Regions from separate parts of the Homo sapiens genome. Here regions 2, 3 and 4 are each linked to region 1. The links are contacts of gene promoters, found by promoter capture Hi-C in human tissues and cell types (Jung and others, 2019). All regions are on one chromosome and are shown on one strand. The core of a region is centred on a gene start or on the middle of the fragment in contact, and the rest is flanking DNA. Distances in the headings are between cores, read along the strand shown. Region 1 holds the start of PDGFRL (platelet derived growth factor receptor like). Region 2 overlaps MTMR7 (myotubularin related protein 7). Region 3 overlaps MTUS1 (microtubule associated scaffold protein 1). Region 4 has its middle 6.6 kb from the start of MTMR7.

Region 1 (2,783 bases), core at 84-2,583:
ATAAATGGCAGCACTTCTTTCGTTGGGTGTTGAGGGACAAGTCCCTTTCCTGTTATTTAGAATTGAGCTCCCTTTAATAGCAGTGCCTGGTGCTGAAGATTACAATGAGATGGGCTGCTTCTCACCGGGGGAACACACACAGGCATCTCCCCCGCTAGCAAACTGCTTTGATCATGAGAGTCTGCAAGCTCAGAAACGCAGGATGGCTCTCTGCAGAGGGACTTGTGAAAGCCCGTATCTTCTGCCCCACTGTTACCTGATAGAGTTGTCCAGGTTCTTGGCCTGTTGAACAAAAAATTGAACGAAATGCACGGAGTAACGAAAGAAAGAAGCAAGGAAAAACAAAGCAACAGAAGGGAGGAAGGAAAACGTAGATTTATAGAAGACAATTCACAGAGGGCGCTGCAGCAAGCCACAAGAGCCTGACGCTCCCCAGGGATTTTATAAAGCGAAAAGAACTTGGCAACACCCTTGGGTTCCCTTTAGAGGCCTCCAACTGGTTACACCTTACGAAGGACTGGCCTGCGACCAGTCCGAGGCTGAAGTGGAAACTTCTGCCTTGTTATCAGAGGAGCGAGGATGTGGCCTGTGTGCCGCCTAATCATGCCTAGAACTGTCTGCACCTGCTGATCTTTTGCTTCTGCGAACTGGCTGCACCTGCTGTTCTCCTGCTCATACCCTAGCCCGTGCTTACCCTAATTCCCTGTTCTCCTGCCTCACCACCAGAGGCCCGGGTTGTCTGCACAGTCTCATTTTCCACGTTATTCCTGTAATGAACCCGTCCTCCCACCCCCACCAGCAGTTACAGGGCTGGGTGCGGAGACCAACTCTGGCCAGACACAGAGGAGCAGCAAGAACCCGGGGCAACGGTCCTGTGAGTGAGTGCATGTGGGGGAGAGAAATGGAATGAACAGAAATAATTTAGGAAGCACTTTTTACAGAGCACTCAGGTTCTGCCTGAGGAGGTGGGGCGGGCGCTGGTAACATTTGGACAATCGTGGTTAAAAGTGACCCCATCAGCACCCGCTGATCCTTCTTGAACTTGATAACCTTGGTGAAAACGCCAAGCGTTGGAGAAATTCAAGGAATGGCTGTTGTAATGTACATTTCACGCTTAGCCTTTCCTCCCCGCGCTGGGAAGAAGTGCTGCGCACCGCGGCTCCGCCAGGGGGCAGGAGAAGTCACATTACACAGAGAACTAAAAAAAAAAAAAATTCCCCAACTTTTTCCCCCAAACCTTGTTCCTCCTGAAGAAACCGAATCCTCCCGCTTCGGCGTCCCAGGAGCCCGCCCCTCGCCCGCCGCCTCCCCTGCGTCCCCGCCCCGCGCAGCCGCCGCGCTCCTGCGCTCCGAGGTCCGAGGTTCCCGAGATGAAGGTCTGGCTGCTGCTTGGTCTTCTGCTGGTGCACGAAGCGCTGGAGGATGGTGAGTGACTCTGGGCGCGGGGCCACCTAGCTTGTGCCCTGACTTTAGCCGGGACCCGAAGCCCCCGCCGCCCTCCTGCCAGCTCTTGGTCTAACGTTCGGCCCTCGGTGGCTCAGCCCCCGCGCCACTGCCTGCCCGGTGCACCTGCCCCCTCCTGGTGGGGTCTCCTTTCCTCCCACTCTTTGCCTGCCCGGAGAGCCCTCTAGGGGTGGTGGCAGCTACCCCGACCCTTAGGAGCCCACCAGGACCTCTCCAAGTCCCCATCTCCGGGCGAACCAAGCATCCCCAGCCAGCGCCTGGTCCAGCCCCCAGTGTCAACGTGTCGGTCTGGGAGGTGGGGCGGGAGCCTCGGATCGCTTCCACCTCCCAGCGGCGTGGCTGGGACCTCTGCTGCTGAGAGCGAGTGCCACCTAAGCTCGGCAATCGCTGATTCGGTTGCAGAGTTCCAGGTGACCTCCCCCTCCCCTCGCAGTTCTGGGCGTGTTTTCGTCTACCACCTTTTGCTTGAATCCTGCAAGATCTGCCTAGATCTTCGAACAAAAATGTCAGTGTATGAAACTTCAAAACGAATCAAAAGCCCACGGCTTATTATATTTATCTAATTGGATGGGAAATGGTGAAGAAAATGCATTTTTTTGGTACAGCTTATGGGACCATGACCGCTGCGCGTTTTTGAATGTGTACCTGTCCTGGGTCCACCCTGTCGTGTACACCCGTGACCACAGGGTCTGGTGTTATTTTTCTGTGTGTCTGGGTGTGTGTATTACTGTGGTGTGTATTATATATTATTGTTAGCATTTAAATGTTTTGTTTGCTCTATTCACTCCATGGGTGTTATTTGTACAGTACATGTTTCATCTGGGTGCCTCCTGGTGTCCTCAACCCTCTCTTGAAATTCCTGGGCTACAACACAATTTTTGCTTAGATTTAGTGGAAAAGTAGCTTTTGCTGTTATGCAACTTCATGCTGGAGCCAGCTCGACCTGGCTCACATTTTTATCCACTCGTTCATCCTGACCAGTTCCTTTCTTTCCTAGGAAACTACATTTGCCAAAAAAATACCGCATTGTAGTTTGCAAAATCCAAGATAGTCGTGGTACTTGAAGTTGAGCATGAGGGTCCTTCAGCCTAGAGCTTTGCTTAATAAAACGTAGGCAGAGCTTCTACTGGGAGAGTAACACTTAACTCTGCCCAGAGAGAAGTTGCCATGAGTTCAGTTTGTAAAATGCAATATTAAAATGCTCCTGGCAGGCCCTTGTGTGCAACCGCTGAAAAGGCAGAAATGTAATTTGTAGTATCATTTTTTGAATAGGGCAGGAGATGGCCAGGCAAAATAATTTCAAATCAGCCATTCCTTTG
Region 2 (2,783 bases), core at 138-2,637, 180 kb before region 1:
TAAAGAAAACATAGTACATATATACAATGGAGCAAGACTCTGTCTCAAAAAAAAAAAAACCAAAAAACTGATAAACATCCATGTATCTAAATTGTTGTGTAAATCTCTATCACCTGAGATTAAATTTCTCAGGTATCTTTTCTGGTTCCATTTCTATATACATTTTAAAGATTTTTGATGCTGTTTGTATGCTTTTCTCTAGGATTGTATCTGCTATTATGGCAGAGGAATACCCTTTAAAAAATTCTTGAGAATTATAGATGAAGTATGGTTTCTCATCAATTTATGTTTATTTGTTTACTGTTGAGATTGAATTTATTTTTTGCAATTATTTATAACAAGAGCAATACAACAATAGTACCGATAGTACTGATAAAAGAAAATTCTGAAATAACACTATAGCTACTGTGCTAGGCACCATTCTAGATTCACATTTATTAAGACGCTTAGACCTCAAAATCACCCTAAGAGGTGAGTACTGTTGTTATCCCCATTTCACAGATGAGGAAACTAAAGTTAAATAAGTTAGTGAGCTGTAAGAGGCAGAGTGAGGATTCAAAACCAGGCATTGTGGCCCCAGAGTGTGTGTTCTTAACAACTCTACCATTTTGCGTTTTGATGTTGAGAACAGGAAAGAAAATGCAGTTTAGGATCCCAGCGGCCTTACAATGCTATCTCCAGGCCCTCTGGAGTCCTGTGTGCTTCCCTGCCTCTAGAGTAATGGGCTACCTCTACATTATCAAGCGTTACCCTTGGTTTTTCTTGTCGTTGCAATTTGATTTTATCAAAAGAACAAACCTCAGTACTGTTTTGATTTAGACCGGTTTAAAGATGGATTCTTATCTAATTGTCAGACTTTTATTGCACAATATTTAACAGCTGTTGAGGAGGTAGTCACTGTAATCAAATACGCTCTTACTCAAAAGACAAGGCTGATAAGATAAGTTTGCTGGAATGAAGCAATCCACTTAAAAGTGTAGATGTGGCAGTATTTCTTTTTTAAGTTTTCCAAGTAAGAATAGATTGTCTAAGCCAAGTAATCACAGAAGTTGTGATTAAACATTCCTCAAAAATCGCCCACATTTCATGAAATCCTCACTTTTAACAGGTCTAGCAAAAGTTGAAGTCTGGTGGTCTTGCATGGAGGCTTGGGTGTACAGAACACACGGTCTGTTATAGAACCTAATAATCCATATTCATTCATTCAGTGTTGTATATAAATGCAGCTAGCTGCCAGGTACCTTTGCAATTCGGGGGATACGGAATGTATGCATGTGTGTGGTATGTGTATGTGTGTAGGTGTGTATGTATGTTACAGAAAAAATGCTATGGAGAAAAATATAAAGAGGTAAAGTATGTTGGTTGAGGTGAGTTAGGATTGTTATTTTATATGTGATGATAAATTGGCTTTCTTGATAAAATAACATTTGAGCAAAGATCTAAAAAAGTGTGGGAGCAAACCATCTGCACATCTAAGGAAAGCAAGTTCCAGGCACAGGAAACATCTCGTGCAAAGGTGTTGAAAAAGGAGTGTGCCTGGGTATCCAGGGAGTAGTGGTCAAGCAGTGAGGTCCAAGAACAGGGAGTGGGGTAGTTGTGGGAAATGAGATTTGAGAGGGAGAAGGGGCAGATAAGGTATAGAATTTCCCTCTGGGTGTGAGGAGACCCACGAAAGAAGTCCAAGCTCCAAATTATATTTAACAGTATCTCTGGCAAAAATAAACTGGTGGGGGAGCGGCAAAAATGAAAAGGGGACCAGGAAAGAGTTGATAGTATTTCAGAACAGGGTGGTAGGAATGGAGGTGCGATAACCTGGATATATTTTAAAAGTAGAGTGCTGAGGATTTACTATTGGCATAGATATGGAAGGAGAGAAAAAGAGGAGTGAAGGGTAACTCCAAAGTTATTGGCTCCAGCACTGGAAGGGTGAAATGCCAAGATTGGAAAGAGCACAAGAGGAGAAAATTGGGTGTGAGACGAGAGGGAATCAGCTCAGTTTGGGACATAGTGAAATTGAGGTACCTATTAGATATACAAATTATTTTAATAAGATCCAGGTACTATGAATCTTATGCATATTATGGATCTTATGGATAAGTACCTTATCTTAAGGAACTATGGAATGACAATACAAAACATATTTTATAGGGTTATTTTTTAAATCATGTATACTTTACAAAGGTCTCAAATTCTTTTGAAAGTAGTCTGATATAAACAAGACATAATAAATTCAGTCTATCAATAAAATTCTGGAAAATTATTTTTAAAAATTTTTTTAACTTTTCTGAGCACATAGTAGGTCTATATATTTATGGAGTATGTGAGATACTTTGATACAGGCATGCGTTGTGTAATAATCACATCATGGTAAATGGGGTATCTAGCTCCTGAAACGTTTATTCTTTGTGTTACAAACAATCCAGTTATACTCTTTTAGTTACTTTAAAATGCTAAATTATTATTATTTATTAAATTATTATTCACCCTGTTGTGCTATCAAATACTAGGTCTTACTCATTCTTTCTAACTACTTTCTGTAGCCGTTAACAATTGCCACTATCCGCCCTCACCTGCCCCAGACCCCACTACCTTCCCCAGCCTCTGATAACCATCCTTCTACCCTCTGTCTCCATGTGTTCAATTGTTTTAATTTTTAGCTCCCACAAATAAGCGAGAATATGTGAAGTTTGTCTTTCTGTAGCTGGCTTCTTTCACTTAGCACAATGACCTTCAGTCCCATCCATGTTGCTGCAAATGACGGGATCTCCTCCTTTTTTATGCCT
Region 3 (2,783 bases), core at 95-2,594, 170 kb after region 1:
CATCGACACAGGATGATAAAAGCTCAAAAGCATGCCCTGTCTTTTCACTAAGACTAAACAGATCCACTTTTCTCTAAGACACATTATGCAACACAGAGTAAAAGGACTTAACAACTACTTCCCCGCTGGGTGGGACTGATCGCCTACATAAAAGGATTCTATCTTTTTCAATGTATCCTGGGTACTGGCCTCATTTCTTAAAAGTATGTGCGCTTAGATTTTCTGGGATTCAAGCCCCACGAAATTCAGAGAATCATACCAGTAACAGCAGTTACTCAGAAAATTAGGTGAGCTCCAAATTGTCCCTAGAAAGGTAAGGGCTGTAAAAGCTGACAGGGTCTTAGATTCTCAGACACTTACACTTTCAAGATGTGAAGATGAAGCCCAGGGAGAGTAAAAGACTTGCTCAGGCAGCGTATTGGGGCCAGAGTGGAACTAAAACACAGGGCTCCTAACTGCAGGCCAGGGGCCACACTCCAGTGCCACCAAGCTACAGGTGTTCCTCACAGAGGAGGAAGGGAGCTTCCCATTCTCTGCAAGCACCATGAGCCTTATTGGACAACTACAGTAAGGACCAGAGCTTTTTCTTCACCACCAAGGGACAGGGTTTTGCTCTGCTGCCCAGGTTGGAGTACAGTGGCATGATCATAGCTCACTGCAGCTTTGAACTTCTGGGCTCAAGTGATCTTCCTGCCTCAGCCTCCTGAATAGCTGAGGAGCCCCTACAAGGGCACACCATCATGCTCTCATGCCCAGCTGTTTTTTTTTTTTGTTGTTGTTGTTTTTTTTTTTTTTTTTTTTAGAGATAGTGTCTTGCTATGTTGCCCAGGCTGGTCCTGAACTCCTGGCCCACTTTGGCTTCCTAAAGCACTGGGATTTCAGGCATAAACCACCACACCCAGCCAGGACTAGAGCTTTCATCTCACTCATGCCTTGACTCCCCAGGTGTGGCAATATCCCAAATAAGAATCACTCTTTCTCCCAATGGCTTTTGGCCTCTGTTTTTCTCCCAGATGATGAACACTCCAAGCTAATGAATTCCTGTTTCCACCCAGATCCTCTGGGGATGGAGCCATGTGCTGCAAACCCCTCTTCCTCCACTCACGCCTCTGTGGTCATGTCTCCTTGACCTTGACACTAGGCCTGAATCTAAATAAACAGCCCGTAAAACATTTCTAAGCATTACAGGCTTTCACACTTGAGGCTTCATGGTAGGGTTGAAAAATGAAACCTACAAATACTAAATTGTAGAGAGGTACAGAGATCTTCTGGGATTTGCTCGCTTTCATTAGTTTCCATAAAACATTCTCACGTGTGTGGACACATAACTATTTGTATAAGGGAACTTACTACTAAATTGATTTGACATGACTTTAATTTGCCCAAGGCTGTACCGGCAGAAGTAAGGTGGGTTCTTTGCAAGATGTTCTCAGTCAATTGGAATGGCTAGCAGGCTTTTCATCCCCGTGACACAGGGATGACTTTTCCATTTCTTTGTAACACAGATCTGTACGTCCGCCAAATTTAGTATGATACTTAATAGCTATTCTTGAGGCGCTCACATTTCATTGGCCTAACATGACTTTAAAATTACAAATTGTAAGATACAAGCCAACATAAATAAAAGTTCACATTAGAAAAATTTAACTTTTTAGTCACCCTCATATCCCTCCTAAATCTATCATACATCTTTCAGTAAAATTAAAAAAAAAATTAATCTCTTCACATGTATTGAGGGCACACTAGGGACCTACCGTACAACACTTCAGCATTGTTAAGCACTTAACCATTTGAAAAAACTTAATGAAATGATTCAAATTTACATCAGCCACCCAATTGTATATTTATGTACACATCCTTCTGAATAGCTTATAAGATGGTTTATACACCTATACCTCTCTCCTCAACTAGCCTTTGCCTTGCTCAAAGATAAGGGATATATGTTGTCATCTTCTTTTTCTACCTCCTGTGCTCAGGATGCTGATCCACAAAAGGCTAACTGCTTTAGTGACAGAAGGCATTAGACCTATAATCATGACTGTCCAATTTTACATTCAATTAACTCATAAACTATTGAACTATTTTATTCTTACCAGAACTGGACACACGCCTGATCCTCTGAGGAGATACGGCTCGATCAGCACTGGGATTTCTATTGTCACTGTTCCGCCTCAAACAGGAAACAGGGGGCCCCACTTTGGCTTTTGGAGCAGCTATTTGCCTCAAACCGCAGGAGTCAGGCTTGGATATATTCCTACCTGAGGTGGTCGTTGTTTTTGAAGCAGAGCCCTGTGAAAATAACAGTTAAGACTGTAAACCAAAACTAAAATTCTAAGCCCCCCAACTGACTGAATGGGCCCCTCCTCTAGGCCAAGGCAATTCCAAAGAAACCTAAAAAACAAGTTCAGGCCATGATGGCAAAGAGGTCAGACATGCCTCATTATACTCTCCTCCCTTTAGAATTCAGGCACAACTGACCAGAATTAACATTAAAACAGAAACCTTAAGTCAGACAAAACAGACTCTTTATAGCAAAAAGACACTAAATTCCAACCTGACTCTAGTTTAGCATCACATGACAGACAGCAAGCCCTGAAGGAAATTGAAGTATTTTACCCCAAAATATTTTTCTTTAACACATTTTGAAATGGCCCTGCAAAGCTGTCTCTTGTAGGGGCAAATTTACATTCTGTAGAGAATCTTCTTCCCTTCCCAGATCTTTGGTCCCAAAGAAATTAGCTGAGAGTCTAGCACCTTTTAAAAGTCTAAATAGGTAATATTTG
Region 4 (2,783 bases), core at 185-2,684, 160 kb before region 1:
GAATATTAGCCTCTGCTGCCAGATTAATCTTCATGAAAACCACCCTAACCATATCACTCTCCAGCTTAAAAACCTTCAAGTGGTTTATAATTGCCTTGTGAATTATTTCCTTACTCTGTCCTTTAAGGCTCAGACTGCTGTCTTTTACAAACTCAGCCAAGTAAGTCACTGGCATTTAGTAGGTGCTCAATACTGTTTTTTTTGTTTTTTTGTTTTTTTGAGATGGAGTCTCGCTCTGTCGCCCAGGCTGGAGTGCAGTGGTGCGATCTCAGCTCACTGCAAGCTCCACCTCCTGGGTTCACACCATTCTCCTGCCTCAGCCTTCCCAGTAGCCGGACTACAGGCGCCCGCCACCACGCCCGGCTAATTTTTTTTTTTTTTTTTTTTTGTATTTTTAGTAGAGACAGGGTTTCACCGTGTTAGCCAGGATGGTCTCGATCTCCTGACCTCATGATCCTCCCCCCTCAGCCTCCCAAAGTGCTGGGATTACAGGTGCGAGCCTCTGCACGCAGCCTAGATACATACTTTTAAATGTATCAATTAGTCAACCAATCCCTTTCTATATCCTGCACTTGCAAATTATTTCTATGTCTTCGCTCATGCTGTTCCACGTCTATCAAATTCTTTGAGGTTCATGTCAAAATTCATTTGAACATTCCCACCAGATGCAGTTCTTCCAAAGTAACTCTTGTCTGTTCATTTCAATGAGCAGAGATGATCATAAGCAGTTTATTTTCATCTGTCACAACTTTTCCACGAGGACCTTGATCAGTACATTATGCTAAGGCTACTACACGGTCCACTACATTGATAATAACATGCTGATTGGACCTGTTGAACTGAAAGTGGTAGATGTCTAACTAAGGCACATGCATATCAGAGGGTGGGAGATGCACTCTGGGAAAGTTCAGGGTCCTGACATCTCAGTGAATTTCTAGAGATCTGCAGTAGTCTGGAGCATGTTAAAATAGCCTCTCCAAAGTGAAAGGCAAGTTGCTTCACTTTGCACCCCTACTAATATATGATGTAACCTATTCCTGAGCTATCCAGAAAGGCTACCAGCTCTGCACAGGGCCCAGAGCACAAAAAGGCTCTCCAGCTGGTTTGGGTTGTAGTGGATACGGATCTACCACAGTGGCCTTTTGACCTCAGCAGATCCAGATATACTCAAGGTGACTGCAGCAGATAGAGGTTGGTATGGAGCCTCTTGCAAGCTCTAATTGAAGACTCATGGTTGGTTACTGCATGGCCCACCACAGCCATACAGCGCCCTTGTGTTAACTTTTAAGGTACTTCAAAATATGGTAAAATATACATAAAATTTACCATTTTAACCATTTTAAGTGTATTGTTCAGTGGTGTTAACCGTATTTACATTGTTGTGCAATCATCACCACTATCCATCTCCAGAACGCTTTTCATCTTGCGAAGCTGAAACTCTGTACCCACACAACGATAACTCCTGATTTTTCCCTACCCTTGGCCCCTGGCAATCATCCTTCTACTTTCTATTACTATGAATATGACAACTCTAGGTACCTCACATAAATACCGTATGATCATATAGTATTTGTCCTTTTGTGAATGGCTTATTTCACTTGGCACAATTTTCTTAAGATGCATCCATGTTGTAGCATATGTCAGAATTGTTTGCCTCTTGAAGGCTGAATAATATTCCATTGTGTGGATAGAGCACATTTTGTTTATCCATTCATTCTCCAGTGGACAGTTGGGTTGCTTGTACATTTTGGCTATTGTGAATAATCCTGCTATGAACATGGGTGTGCAGAAATCTCACTGACACCTGCTTTCAATTCTTTTGAATATACACCCCGACATGGAATTGCTGGGTCATATGGTAATTCCATTTTTAGTTTTTTGAGGAAATCTTACACTGTTTTTCATGGTGGTTGCAGCATTTTACCTTCCCACTAACAGTGCAGAAGTGTTCCAATTTCTCTGCTTCATCACAAATACATGTTATTTTCTGGAGGATTTTTGGTTTTAGTTTTTTTTTTTTTTATAGCAGCCATCTTAATGGGTATGAGGTGGTCTGTTGTGCTCATGTTAAAAAGATGCAGAGGATGCCTGCATCCTCTGCATAGCCCAGAAGCACTCAAACATCAGAAGGAAGTGGGACATAAGAGATCTCCCTGGAAAGTCGAGGCTGCAGTGAGCCATGATCACACCACTGCACTTCAGCCTGGGTGACAGAGGTGACCCTGTCTCAAAAACAATAAAGAGAGAGAGAGAGAGAGCTCCCACTGAAGCATACGCTAAAGGTCCAACTGAGTTTCACGAGAAGGTGGTTCAGATTCCCATGTCTTCTTCCAGTGTCGATCAATGCCACCTCTCCCTCAATTCATACTTACAGTGTTATAGGGCATTTAATGCACGTAGTTCACAAAAGAAGAAAAAGTTCCAGCCTGGTTTATATACGTTTCTGCACCATAAACTCAAAGCGGCCGGAAGTGGAATGCTGCAGCACTACAGCTCTGCTCAGGAGTGGCCACCAAGGATGGAGAGGACGGAACTTCTCCAGGTGGGCAGAACTGTGCAGTTTTTCTTGAAACTTCAATGCCTTGAAGGATAGATGGCCACATATACAGACTGATGCCAATTAAAGGTGGGTGAGCAGCATTTGTTCAATGCCCGGGACTTGGAAGGAACAAAATTTGAGATTGGCAATGAGAAACAAGGAAAATATTTAGGGATGGATCTTTCAAAAGAGCCCAGAGTATGAAAATACTTGTGTCCCATGTAAATACTCACCATAGGGCATT

Evidence for each region. Contacts are between HindIII fragments. The study calls those that stand out against the background at their distance.
Region 2: a contact is called between a fragment that was not itself captured here and the fragment with the promoter of PDGFRL in region 1, in 1 of the 25 tissues and cell types used here (dorsolateral prefrontal cortex).
Region 3: a fragment that was not itself captured here is called in contact with the fragment with the promoter of PDGFRL in region 1 in 2 of the 25 tissues and cell types used here (dorsolateral prefrontal cortex and hippocampus).
Region 4: a contact is called between a fragment that was not itself captured here and the fragment with the promoter of PDGFRL in region 1, in 1 of the 25 tissues and cell types used here (stomach).

Annotation. Positions count from the first base shown.
Region 1 is chr8:17,575,883-17,578,665 of GRCh38, forward strand. PDGFRL (platelet derived growth factor receptor like) reads left to right here and starts at 1,334. Exons shown (of 6, transcript NM_001372073.1): 1 at 1,334-1,425. The coding sequence starts at 1,371. RefSeq lists silencers at 1,540-1,599, 1,690-1,739. The HindIII fragment of the contact is 19,467 bases long and covers 1-2,783 here.
Region 2 is chr8:17,399,827-17,402,609 of GRCh38, forward strand. The region is part of intron 1 of MTMR7 (myotubularin related protein 7); the gene reads right to left. Among named protein-coding and RNA genes, the nearest start is that of MTMR7, 12 kb to the right of the region's middle. The HindIII fragment of the contact is 6,173 bases long and covers 1-2,783 here.
Region 3 is chr8:17,741,511-17,744,293 of GRCh38, forward strand. It overlaps MTUS1 (microtubule associated scaffold protein 1), which reads right to left. Exons shown (of 15, transcript NM_001363059.2): 3 at 2,094-2,289. Among named protein-coding and RNA genes, the nearest start is that of MTUS1, 58 kb to the right of the region's middle. The HindIII fragment of the contact is 9,707 bases long and covers 1-2,783 here.
Region 4 is chr8:17,418,510-17,421,292 of GRCh38, forward strand. No RefSeq gene overlaps it. Among named protein-coding and RNA genes, the nearest start is that of MTMR7, 6.6 kb to the left of the region's middle. The HindIII fragment of the contact is 6,995 bases long and covers 1-2,783 here.